Regions from separate parts of the Homo sapiens genome. Here region 2 is linked to region 1. Evidence: promoter capture Hi-C in 16 types of primary human blood cells and fetal thymus (Javierre and others, 2016). All regions are on one chromosome and are shown on one strand. The core of a region is centred on a gene start or on the middle of the fragment in contact, and the rest is flanking DNA. Distances in the headings are between cores, read along the strand shown.

The links. The method cuts DNA at HindIII sites, captures the fragments that hold promoters and counts their contacts. A CHiCAGO score of 5 or more calls a contact.
Region 2: a contact is called between a fragment that was not itself captured here and the fragment with the promoter of SERPINF2 in region 1, in 3 of 17 cell types (M0 macrophages, M1 macrophages and M2 macrophages). The highest score is 7.1, in M0 macrophages.

The regions. Positions count from the first base shown.
Region 1 is chr17:1,738,276-1,744,635 of GRCh38, forward strand. It overlaps SERPINF2 (serpin family F member 2), which reads left to right and starts at 4,596. Exons shown (of 10, transcript NM_000934.4): 1 at 4,596-4,633. WDR81 (WD repeat domain 81) reads left to right here. Exons shown (of 10, transcript NM_001163809.2): 10 at 1-310. The HindIII fragment of the contact is 21,208 bases long and covers 1-6,360 here.
Region 2 is chr17:1,779,270-1,784,965 of GRCh38, forward strand. It overlaps SMYD4 (SET and MYND domain containing 4), which reads right to left. Exons shown (of 11, transcript NM_052928.3): 8 at 5,057-5,192; 9 at 4,091-4,207; 10 at 3,766-3,889; 11 at 216-2,170. The coding sequence ends at 2,017. Among named protein-coding and RNA genes, the nearest start is that of SERPINF1, 20 kb to the left of the region's middle. RefSeq lists an enhancer at 4,586-4,880. The HindIII fragment of the contact is 1,609 bases long and covers 3,468-5,076 here.

The sequences.
Region 1 (6,360 bases), core at 3,346-5,845:
AAAGGTGCACTTGGCCAGTGGCGCCTGCCAGGAGTGAGTCCATGCGTTGTCTGCCCACCCCTACCACAGTGTTTGTGCCTTCAGCTGAGGGGGCAGCCTCTGGGCCCTGAACCCCTGCTGGGGCTCCACGACCCTGAGAGAAGGGGTGAGAAGAATCATCTCTGCACCTCGGGTCTCTGCCAGAGGAAGACTTAAGCATCCCTGCGACCTCACATTCTAGACAGAGATGAGGTCCAGGGGTTGGCCCCTGCTGCCTTCTCACAATTTGCAATAGATGTAAATAGGACCAATAAATCCTTTGGAAGAGCCATGGGGTGAACTGAGGCTTGTCTTTTTTTTTTTTTTCAATAGAGATGGAGTCTGACTATGTTGCCCAAGCTGGTCTCCAACTCCTGGGCTCAAGCGATCCTCCTGCCTCGGCCTCCCAAAGTGTTGGGATTACAGGCATGAGCCACCACGCCCAGCCTGAGGCTTATCTTGCTGGTGGTGTCAGGGTGGGGAAAGTCGAGACCCAGCAGTTTCCAGGACAGTGAGGGTGGGAAGGGGCCTGATGGAGGGAGTGAGGAGCAGGACAGTGAGGGTAGGAGGCGGCCTGATGCAGGGAGTGAGGCGCAGGACAGTGAGGGTGGGAAGGAGCCTGATGCAGGGAGTGAGGCGCAGGACAGTGAGGGTGGGAAGGAGCCTGATGCAGGGAGTGAGGCGCAGGACAGTGAGGGTGGGAAGGAGCCTGATGCAGGGAGTGAGGCGCAGGACAGTGAGGGTGGGAAGGAGCCTGATGCAGGGAGTGAGGCGCAGGACAGTGAGGGTGGGAAGGAGCCTGATGCAGGGAGTGAGGCGCAGGACAGTGAGGGTGGGAAGGAGCCTGATGCAGGGAGTGAGGCGCAGGACAGTGAGGGTGGGAAGGAGCCTGATGCAGGGAGTGAGGAGCCGGACAGTGAGGGTGGGAGGCGGCCTGATGCAGGGAGTGAGGCGCAGGACAGTGAGGGTGGGAAGGAGCCTGATGCAGGGAGTGAGGCGCAGGACAGTGAGGGTGGGAAGGAGCCTGATGCAGGGAGTGAGGAGCAGGACAGTGAGGGTGGGAAGGAGCCTGATGCAGGGAGTGAGGAGCCGGACAGTGAGGGTGGGAAGGAGCCTGATGCAGGGAGTGAGGAGCAGGACAGTGAGGGTGGGAAGTGGCCTGATGCAGGGAGTGAGGAGCAGGTGTGAGGGCGGGAAGCGGCCTGATGCAGGGAGTGAGGCGCAGGACAGTGAGGGTGGGAAGGAGCCTGATGCAGGGAGTGAGGCGCAGGACAGTGAGGGTGGGAAGGAGCCTGATGCAGGGAGTGAGGCGCAGGACAGTGAGGGTGGGAAGGAGCCTGATGCAGGGAGTGAGGAGCAGGACAGTGAGGGTGGGAAGTGGCCTGATGCAGGGAGTGAGGCGCAGGACAGTGAGGGTGGGAGGCGGCCTGATGCAGGGAGTGAGGCGCAGGACAGTGAGGGTGGGAAGGAGCCTGATGCAGGGAGTGAGGCGCAGGACAGTGAGGGTGGGAAGGGGCCTGATGCAGGGAGTGAGGCGCAGGACAGTGAGGGTGGGAAGGAGCCTGATGCAGGGAGTGAGGAGCCGGACAGTGAGGGTGGGAAGGAGCCTGATGCAGGGAGTGAGGAGCAGGACAGTGAGGGTGGGAGGTGGCCTGATGCAGGGAGTGAGGAGCCGGACAGTGAGGGTGGGAAGGAGCCTGATGCAGGGAGTGAGGCGCAGGACAGTGAGGGTGGGAGGCGGCCTGATGCAGGGAGTGAGGCGCAGGACAGTGAGGGTGGGAAGGAGCCTGATGCAGGGAGTGAGGAGCAGGACAGTGAGGGTGGGAGGCGGCCTGATGCAGGGAGTGAGGCGCAGGACAGTGAGGGTGGGAAGGAGCCTGATGCAGGGAGTGAGGCGCAGGACAGTGAGGGTGGGAAGGAGCCTGATGCAGGGAGTGAGGCACAGGACAGTGAGGGTGGGAAGTGGCCTGATGCAGGGAGTGAGGCGCAGGACAGTGAGGGTGGGAAGGAGCCTGATGCAGGGAGTGAGGAGCCGGACAGTGAGGGTGGGAAGGAGCCTGATGCAGGGAGTGAGGCGCAGGACAGTGAGGGTGGGAAGGGGCCTGATGCAGGGAGTGAGGCGCAGGACAGTGAGGGTGGGAAGGAGCCTGATGCAGGGAGTGAGGAGCAGGACAGTGAGGGTGGGAGGCGGCCTGATGCAGGGAGTGAGGAGCCGGACAGTGAGGGTGGGAAGGAGCCTGATGCAGGGAGTGAGGAGCCGGACAGTGAGGGTGGGAAGGAGCCTGATGCAGGGAGTGAGGCGCAGGACAGTGAGGGTGGGAGGCGGCCTGATGCAGGGAGTGAGGCGCAGGACAGTGAGGGTGGGAAGGAGCCTGATGCAGGGAGTGAGGAGCAGGACAGTCAGGGTGGGAGGCGGCCTGATGCAGGGAGTGAGGCGCAGGACAGTGAGGGTGGGAAGGAGCCTGATGCAGGGAGTGAGGCGCAGGACAGTGAGGGTGGGAAGGAGCCTGATGCAGGGAGTGAGGCGCAGGACAGTGAGGGTGGGAAGTGGCCTGATGCAGGGAGTGAGGCGCAGGACAGTGAGGGTGGGAAGTGGCCTGATGCAGGGAGTGAGGCGCAGGACAGTGAGGGTGGGAAGGGGCCTGATGCAGGGAGTGAGGCGCAGGACAGTGAGGGTGGGAAGGGGCCTGATGCAGGGAGTGAGGAGCCGGACAGTGAGGGTGGGAAGGAGCCTGATGCAGGGAGTGAGGCGCAGGACAGTGAGGGTGGGAAGGGGCCTGATGCAGGGAGTGAGGCGCAGGACAGTGAGGGTGGGAAGGGGCCTGATGCAGGGAGTGAGGAGCCGGACACTGAGGGTGGGAAGGAGCCTGATGCAGGGAGTGAGGCGCAGGACAGTGAGGGTGGGAAGGGGCCTGATGCAGGGAGTGAGGCGCAGGACAGTGAGGGTGGGAAGGGGCCTGATGCAGGGAGTGAGGAGCCGGACAGTGAGGGTGGGAAGGAGCCTGATGCAGGGAGTGAGGCGCAGGACAGTGAAGGTGGGAAGGGGCCTGATGCAGGGAGTGAGGCGCAAGACAGTGAGGGTGGGAAGGAGCCTGATGCAGGGAGTGAGGCGCAGGACAGTGAGGGTGGGAAGGAGCCTGATGCAGGGAGTGAGGAGCAGGACAGTGAAGGTGGGAAGGAGCCTGATGCAGGGAGTGAGGAGCCGGACAGTGAGGGTGGGAAGGAGCCTGATGCAGGGAGTGAGGAGCTGGACAGTGAGGATGGGAAGGAGCCTGATGCAGGGAGTGAGGAGCAGGACAGTGAGGGTGGGAAGTGGCCTGATGCAGGGAGTGAGGCGCAGGACAGTGAGGGTGGGAAGGAGCCTGATGCAGGGAGTGAGGAGCAGGACAGTGAGGGTGGGAGGCGGCCTGATGCAGGGAGTGAGGAGCCGGACAGTGAGGGTGGGAGGCGGCCTGATGCAGGGAGTGAGGAGCAGGACAGTGAGGGTGGGAAGTGGCCCGATGCAGGGAGTGAGGCGCAGGACAGTGAGGGTGGGAAGGAGCCTGATGCAGGGAGTGAGGAGCCGGACAGTGAGGGTGGGAAGGAGCCTGATGCAGGGAGTGAGGAGCCGGACAGTGAGGGTGGGAAGGAGCCTGATGCAGGGAGTGAGGAGCAGGTGTGAGGGCGGGAAGCGGCCTGATGCAGGGAGTGAGGAGCAGGACAGTGAGGGTGGGAAGGGGCCTGATACAGGGAGTGAGGAGCAGGACAGTGAGGGTGGGAAGGAGCCTGATGCAGGGAGTGAGGAGCCGGACAGTGAGGGTGGGAAGCAGCCTGATCTTTGCACGGGCTGCCAGGCTTCTGGTTCATACAGCCCCAGGTCAGTTTCCAGAACCCTCGCTCTTGGGTAGGGGAAAGAGACATTGCTCTGGAGTGGCAGGACGGTGGGAGAAGTTGAGTCCCTCTCATTTCTCCTCCCTCACCCCCTGCCTTCCATCCCAGTCTGAAGGCAGCCAACCTGATCCTGGGCTTGGAAGGTTGGGGGTGGGCTTCCTATCCTGGGCTCTCTGCATAGGCTCTTGTGGCTTCCCCTTTCCTCCCCTCAGGAGCGGGAGGCAGCTCTCTGGGAGAAGAAAGGACATTGGGAGTGAGAATCTGGATGTGCCTCAGCCCAGCTCTGTGTCCTTGGGCAGGTCACATGGCCTCTCTGAGCCTGGCTGAACCAGGGATAATCCACACCTCGTGGGGTCTCTGGAAGGCTTAACACAGTGCTAGGTTCCTGTGCTTTCTGGATCCGCCCTCTTGGCTAGCCAGATCCAGTCTCTTCAACTCTCTCCTCCTGAACTTTCTCTTTCCAGGCTCGGGGGGGGGGACCCAAATATAGGGGGTTCTGCGTGGCTGCCTCAGGGTTAGATGCCCTGGTGGGAAAGGGGCTTCTGGCTTCAAGATCAATGTTTAACTGGATGTGCAAGTCAATATTTACCAGAAGAGAAAGCAATCTGAACAGGGGTTGGCTGAGAGTAAAGGTCCTGGTGGGAGGGGAGGGGTGGGCTGGGCCAGCTGGAGCCTGGGCAGAGAGTGAGGAGCACCCAAGTGGGGCCAGAGGAACGTTGTGTGTGGCAGCAAGGAGCCCGCAGAGGTATGAGGGGAGGGGCTGCTCGGCCTGCTCCTTGGGTAGGAGAGGAGGAGGGAGCTGCCTCCCTGGCTGAGGGGTCTGGGATTTATTCAGGAGGCCTGTCACTCCCCAGCCTCTTCTGGGACTTGAAAAACTGGAGCCTGTTCTTGGCAAGAAGATTCTAATGCCCAGGTCGGAGTCGGGGCCCTGGCCAAGGGCTCTTGTGTGGGATGGGGGTGGGGCCGGGGGGACCAAAGGATCCTCCAGAAGGGTTGGCCCCAAGATGGGGGTGGGCTGGAGGTAGCTGAGACCTGCTCTGACTTATCCTCCTGAGACCAACACCTGCCCTTCCCAGAGCCAGCCTGGAGCAGAGGCCTGTGATGCTCCTAAGTGCAGAGGTGGCTCTGGCCAGAGTCATTCACTGGGCTCTGCTGCTGGGTCAAAAGGCAGCTCTCTGGCTGCCTTGCCACCCATGGTGAGACCTCAGGGCCTCACAGGTATGTCCAGCCTTGTGGGCAAGACCTGACCAGCCTGAGAAAGACGGGTTGGGGCCAGGCGTGGTGGCTCATGCCTGTCATCCCAGCACTTTGGGAGGCTGAGGCAGGTGGATCACCTGAGGTCAGGAGTTCGAGACCAGCCTGACCAACATGGAGAAACCCTGTCTCTACTAAAAATACAAAATTAGCCAGGCATGGTGGCACATGCCTGTAATCCCAGCTACTCGGGAGGCTGAGGCAGGAGAATCGCTTTAACCCAGGAGGTGGAGGTTGCAGTGAGCCGAGATCGTGCCATTGCACTCCAGCCTGCATGATAAGAATGAAACTCCATCTCAAAAAAAAAAAAAAAAAAAAAAAAGACAGGCTAAATGGATGCAGCAGGCTGGGTAGGAGCTCTGTGTTGGAGCTCTGCGGTGGAGGCTTCAGGGCAGGCTTCCCAGAAGAGGTGGCCTTGAGCCAAGCTGACCCCAGCCATCGGGGGAGTGCCAAGCATTGTACTCAGGGTTTACAAAGATGGTCTTATTTATTTTTTTGAGACAGAGTCTTGCTCTGTCGCCCAGGCTGGAGTGCAGTGGCGTGATCTCGGCTCACTGCAACCTCCGCCTCCCGGGTTCAAGCAGTTCTCTGCCTCAGCCTCCCGAGTAGCTGGGATTACAGGGGCCCACCACCACGCCTGGCTAATTTTGTATTTTCAGTAGAGATGGGGTTTTACCATGTTGGCCAGGCTGGTCTTGAACTCCCGACCTCAGGTGATCCACCTGCCCCTGGCCTCCCAAAGTGCTGGGATTACAGGCTTGAGCCACCGTGCCTGGCCACAAAGATGGTCTTTTGCCGGGTGCAGTGGCTCATGCCTGTAATCCCAGTACTTTGGGAGGCCGAGGCAGGAGGATCACCTGAGGTCGGGAGTTTAAGACCAGCCTGACTAACACAGAGAAACCCCGTTTCTACTAAGAAATACAGAATTAGCCAGGCGTGGTGGTGCATGCCTGTAATCCCAGCTATTCGGGAGGCTGAAGCAGGAGAATCGCTTGAACCTGGGAGGTGGAGGTTGCGGTGAGCCGAGATCCTGCCACTGCACTCCAGCCTGGTCAACGAGAGCGAAACTCCGTCTCAAAAAATAAACAACAAAAAATCCCAAAAAGACGGTCTTATTTTGGTCCTCACCATGCATGTGAGAAGAGTGAGGGACTTGTGCCACCGTTTTACAAGGTAAGGCCAAGCCTGGTGGAGTTACGGGAAATGCCGAGGTCCTTT
Region 2 (5,696 bases), core at 3,022-5,521, 41 kb after region 1:
GGAGTTTGATACCAACCTGACCAACATAGTGAAATCCCGTCTCTACTAAAAATACAAAATTAGCCAGGCGTGGTGGCGGGCGCCTGTAATCCCAGCTACTCGGGAGGCTGAAGCAGGAGAATCACTTGAACCCGGAAGGCGGAGGTTGCCGTAAGCCAAGATCGCGCCATTGCGCTCCAGCCTGGGCAACAAGAGTGAAACTCCATCTCAAAAACAAAACAAAACAAAACAAAACAAAACAAAACCAACAACTCAGAAGGAGGCATATGTGTTATAAAGTCTTTACTACAACTTTGATTTTATTAGTGGTTGGTTACTGACTCTGCCAAGAGTACAGAATGAAGGGCAGAGAGTAAGGACTGGAAAACTGGCAGGAAACACACTGACAGCCGTCATCCCTGGAGGAAACTGCTCAATAAAACGGCTCCATATTTACTTCTCTGGTCACGGTTCATACTCCACGATTTTAACAAAGGAGTCGAGGAAGCTAGATACTGTAAGTGGAACGGTGTGTCTCTGGAGGTAAGCAGGCTTGCTGATTTCTTGTTTTATAATTCTTTTTTAATTACAATGTAACTACTAAGAGCTTCAGTTCCCACTGGAGTGGTGCACACATCTCATTACTACTAAAACCACAGGAATGTTCCAGGGAAACAGACTATCATCACTGAGCGAGGTGGAATCCAGCCAAAACCCCAGGCTAACATCCAGATGCCTGCAGATCAGCTAAAATCCTTTTAAAGGACTTGGAATCTCCAGATACTAGTTTTAAGTCTTTTCTGGGAACTGGGAGTTTGTACTGGAGGCCACTTAACTATTTCAAAAAATATTCACCAAAATAGGTGTCTCTCTGACTGCAACGGTTTGAGTCCTCCTCAGCCCTCATATCCTAGGCTTCGGACTGTTGGGAAAGTCTTATCTTCCTGACGAAAGCTCAGCAGCAACAGAACCTGTTATTTTTTTGTTGAGACAGGGTCTTACTCTGTCACCCAGGCTGGAGTGCAGTAGTGCGATCTTGGCTCACTGCAGCCTCAGCCTACCAGGCTCAGGTGACCCTATCTCAGCTTCTCGAGTAGGTGGGACTACAGGCATGTGCCACCATGCTCGGTGAACTAAAAAAACTTTTTTGTAGTGATACGGTCTCACTATATTGCCCAGGCTGGTTTTGAACTCCTGGGCTCAAGTGATCCTCCCACCTCAGCGTCTCAAAGTACTGGGATTACAGGTGTGAGCCTCTACACTGGGCCTGCAGAACCTACACAGAATCCGCACCTGGTCTGCAGAACCCACACCCGACCCACAGAACCCACACCCGACCCACAGAACCCACATCTGGCAGCAGAACCTCTTAATATTTTTTTTTTTTCTTTGAGATGGAGTCTGGCTCTGTCACCCAGGCTGGAGTGCAGTGGCGCGATCTCGGCTCACTGCAAGCTCTTCCTCCCGGGTTCACCCCATTCTCCTGCCTCAACCTCCCGAGTAGCTGTGAATACAGGCGTCCGCCACCACGCCCGACTAATTTTTTTGTATTTTTAGTAGAGACGGGGTTTCACCGTGTTAGCCAGGATGGTCTGGATCTCCTGACCTCGTGATCTGCCTGCCTCGGCCTCCCAAAGTGCTGGGATTACAGGCTTGAGCCACCGCACCCGGCCTCTTATTTTTTTTTTTGAGATGGAGTCTCACACTGTCACCTGGGCTGGAGTGCAGTGGAGCGATCTCGGCTCACTGCAACCTCCGCCTCCTGGGTTCAAGAGATTCTCCTGCCTCAGCCTCCCAAGTAGCTGGGATTACAGGTGCCCACCACCACGCCTGGCTAGTTTTTTGTATTTTTAGTAAAGATGGGGTTTCACCATGTTGGCCAGGCTGGTCTTGAACTCCTGACATCAGGTGATCCGCCCACCTTAGCCTCCCAAAGTGCTGGGATTACAGGCGTGAGCCACCATACCTGGCCAGCAAAACCTCTTTAACTTGTGTTCCATGGGCTCCTTTTCTGTGGGTCAAAATCCTCCTGGAACCCTACAATGCAGGCCCTACAGGGGTGGGTGGTAAGTCCAACAAACAGGATTTCATCTTCTGGAGCTCCTGGATTTCATCGTCCCATGGGCCACAGTGCAGCGACAGAACCTCCTCAGCTTTCTGTATTGTGCTCAGGGCTTCGGGTACTGCAAACCTGAGCCAAGGGAGGTAAGAGGAGTTAGTTCACTGATTTGTGAGGCAAATGTTAATTGAGGGCCTACTCACACACCGTGAAGAATGTAAGATCATTTCTGTCATCAAGGATCCTACAATCTAGAACAGTAAGTAAGACACTGTCACAAACACGCTGCAAAACAAAAGTGTGAGAAAACAGTTATAAAAGATAGTATAGACGCCAGGATCCTGAGAACACGAGGCAAATCTCAAAGCTTTTTTTTTTTTTTTTGAGACAAGAGTTTCACTCTTGTCGCCCAGGTATTTGTGCGACCTCGGCTCACTGCAACCTCCGCCTCCCGGGTTCAAGTGATTCTCCTGCCTCAACCTCCTGGGCAGCTGGATTACAGGCGTGAGCTACCACACCCGGCCTCAAAGTTTTCATCTGGTATTTACCACAGGTTTACATAGCAGTTTTCATTTTAGGGTGACCATCTTAGGGCTGACCTCTGACCTAACTCTGCAGCCCTTTTCTCTCTCTCTGACCAAACAGAATGTCTCTGTGTCTTGGGTACCAGGCCCACTCAGCACAGCCTTAGGTTGAAGCTTTAAGCACTTTCTCATAGCCACATACACCAAGGGCAGCTTTACCAGGGTTGGAGGTTCCACCCGGAAATCCTGAAATTGGGCCCTAAATGGTCTCAGTAGCAAAAGTGGATTTGGCATCAGCTCATCAGCGTGCTGTTCTTTCCTTTTAACCTTCAAAGTAGAACAGGGGATTTAAAACAAAAAACAAACAACAGCAGCAAAAAAGCAGGGTTTCTCGACCCTGACACTATTGACACTGTTGCTGGCTCCTTCTTTGCTGGGGTTGGTGGGGGGGGCACTGTCTTGTACCCGGGAGGATGCTTAGCAGCACCTCTGGCCTCTTTCGAATAGATGCCAGCAGCACCCCCCTTCCAAGTCATGACAATCCAAAATGTCTCCAGAGATCGCTTGAGCCCAGGAGTTGCAGGAAGCAGTGAGCTGTGACCGAGCCACTGTACTCCAGCCTGGGCAAGACAGCAAGACCCCTTCTCAAAAAAAAAAAAAAAAAAGTCTCCAGGCAATGCCACATGTTGTCTGGGGGTAAAATCAGCCCTGGTTCAAGCAAACGCTTTAAAAGGAAGAGGATGCAGAGTAGGGAGAAGGCAGAGAGCCTGGAGCTGAGAGTGCTGGGAATGAGACAGCCAAAGGGGCTGTGACGAACCAGAGAACAACCAGAAGGAGAGCTATACTGGAGGGTGGGTGGGGCTGCCTGGCCAAGTTCTCTCTGGGAAACTCACTTGAGATCTAAAAGCTTTCCCCATATCTCCCAGGAGGAAATTCTTTTTTTTTTTTTTTTTGAGATGGAGTCTCGCTCTGTCGCCCAGGCTACAGTGCAGTGGCGCGATCTTGGCTCACTGCAAGCTCCGCCTCCCAGGAGGAAATTCTAAAGCGTTATGTTTGTTAGCAAAACAGAAGGCAAAGATCTCTCCTAAAGAGGAAATAAAGAAGTTTCAACATGCTTTTAAAAACACCATAGAAAAAAAGTAATACCCAGAAGAGCCTAGGAAAGGAACAGTGTGTGCCCTGTGAAGTGGGAAAGGGACTCACCCGTTGAAAAAGATCTGGGCCAATTTGAAGAGCTCATGGCCCATTTCAACACTGGACGGCCCGTGGCGAACCTCCACCACGTAGAGACTCCTCTGTAGATGGGTGGCTGACTTTTGCCAGTCTCCTGTGAGAAGAGAAAAATCTTGTTCCAGAAAAGAACCACTGTCAACTGTGGATGCATATTTTCAGGGGGAGGAAATGGAACGAGAGGGGGAGCACCCTCAGTTTACAGAGCGGGGGGTAACCAGGCAGACAAGGCCGGGGCCACGGCGAAGTGCCCACAGCAGACTGTTCCCGACGCAGAACGTGAAGGCTCATGCTGTACCTAAGGCAGCACAGGCCCGGGCCAGGCCATCCGCGATCTCTCCCACCACGGCGTGCTCTGCCCACAGGAAGCTCTCGGCGTCACGCTGGCACCCCGACAGCCGCTGAACAGCTCGCTCTGTCAATGCAGAGGAAAGACGTCTCACTATAGACAGAAGCCCAGTCCTAGGAATGAGAATCCAGGTCTCAAATCCTCTGAATCAGCTGGGCTGAATGTGGAAATTCCCCCTGGCCTCCCTGGGTTGTCACCAACGCACAATGTCTGTTCCAATAAAGCTGCTGTTTTCTTCTGTTTTCTCTGTCAGTGGAGAAAGGCGCTAGGGGAGGCCTCCCCACATTTACACTGTATTTTCAACATTAACTTCCCAACTCGACCAACTCTACCTTTCACGTACGGCCATGATTTCTCTTGACCCTGAAATCTAAGCTAAAGGTCAACTTTCATAAAGCAGGGTAAATAAAAATCCCATGATGTCAAGCTCTAAGGCAGGGTTTTCAAGGGCAATGGGGAGCTCCGCAAGTCTCAGACAAAAGCAAGACACTCCTATCAGCTGGGCTCACGCCCCACTGCTCTCTAGCAGAGACTAGCTCTGAGGAGGGAAGAACCGCCCTTCTAGGAAGTTACATCACTAGGCCCTGGAATTAAAATAAATGACACTCAACTTCTGGAACTGCACACAGCTCACGGATGTCAGCGATGACCCGTTAGTTGGCAGGGGTACTTCAACTTAGCAATCAGATGCAGAAGAAAACAACAGCTGAAATCACCTGGCCCCTTTTCAAGGGCCCCACAGTAACAAAGCTGGTCAGGGTTTGGACTCACTGGCCTATATAGCCATCTTGTGGCTGGCATGGGGATAATTACATCCAATTCTCCCATCAGTACTGAGTATCCCTGAGTCCAAAACGGTATCAGAACAAATAAAAGGGAAGGGGCTGGAGGACCAAAGCAGGGAGCCAGTCTCACCTAGTTCACCATCTCTGAGAAGCTTCTGGGCCACTCTGACCTGCTGCTGTAGGTCCTGTAACCGAGAGACCAGGTGGTCCCTGCTGACGGCGGATTCTGCACAAGATCTGCTGCCACAGCGCAGCACGTCATCTCCCTGTGGAAGTCAGTTTTCTCTTTATTCCAATGCCAGGGTCAGTTATCAACACCGCCTGTGCTTACATTACAGGACTGCTCCATAGTTTCTTACCTCATGGGGGAAAGAGACTCCTGTAACAATACATCGTGACGAAAGTCTGAGCGAATTTTGTTTGATGGCGGCAATGGCGGCAATTCTAATGAAGTGTATCAGCAGTAGCTGATCCCACCTGAGATTTCATTTTTGGAACAGAACTGGTACAGTGCACAATTTCTTTCCACTTCTATAGCCCCTCTTGTCGCTTTTTGGGGCCAGGACTTTAGATGACAAACATTTCTTTTTTTTGAGATGGAGTCTCGCTCGGTCTCCAGGCTGGAGTGCAGTGGTGCGATCTCGGCTCACTCCAAGCTCCGCCTCCCGGGTTCACGCCATTCTCCTGCCTCAGTCTCCCGAGTAGCTGGGACTACAGGTGCCCACCACCAAGCCCGGCTAAATTTTTGTGTGTGTTATTTATTTTTTTTT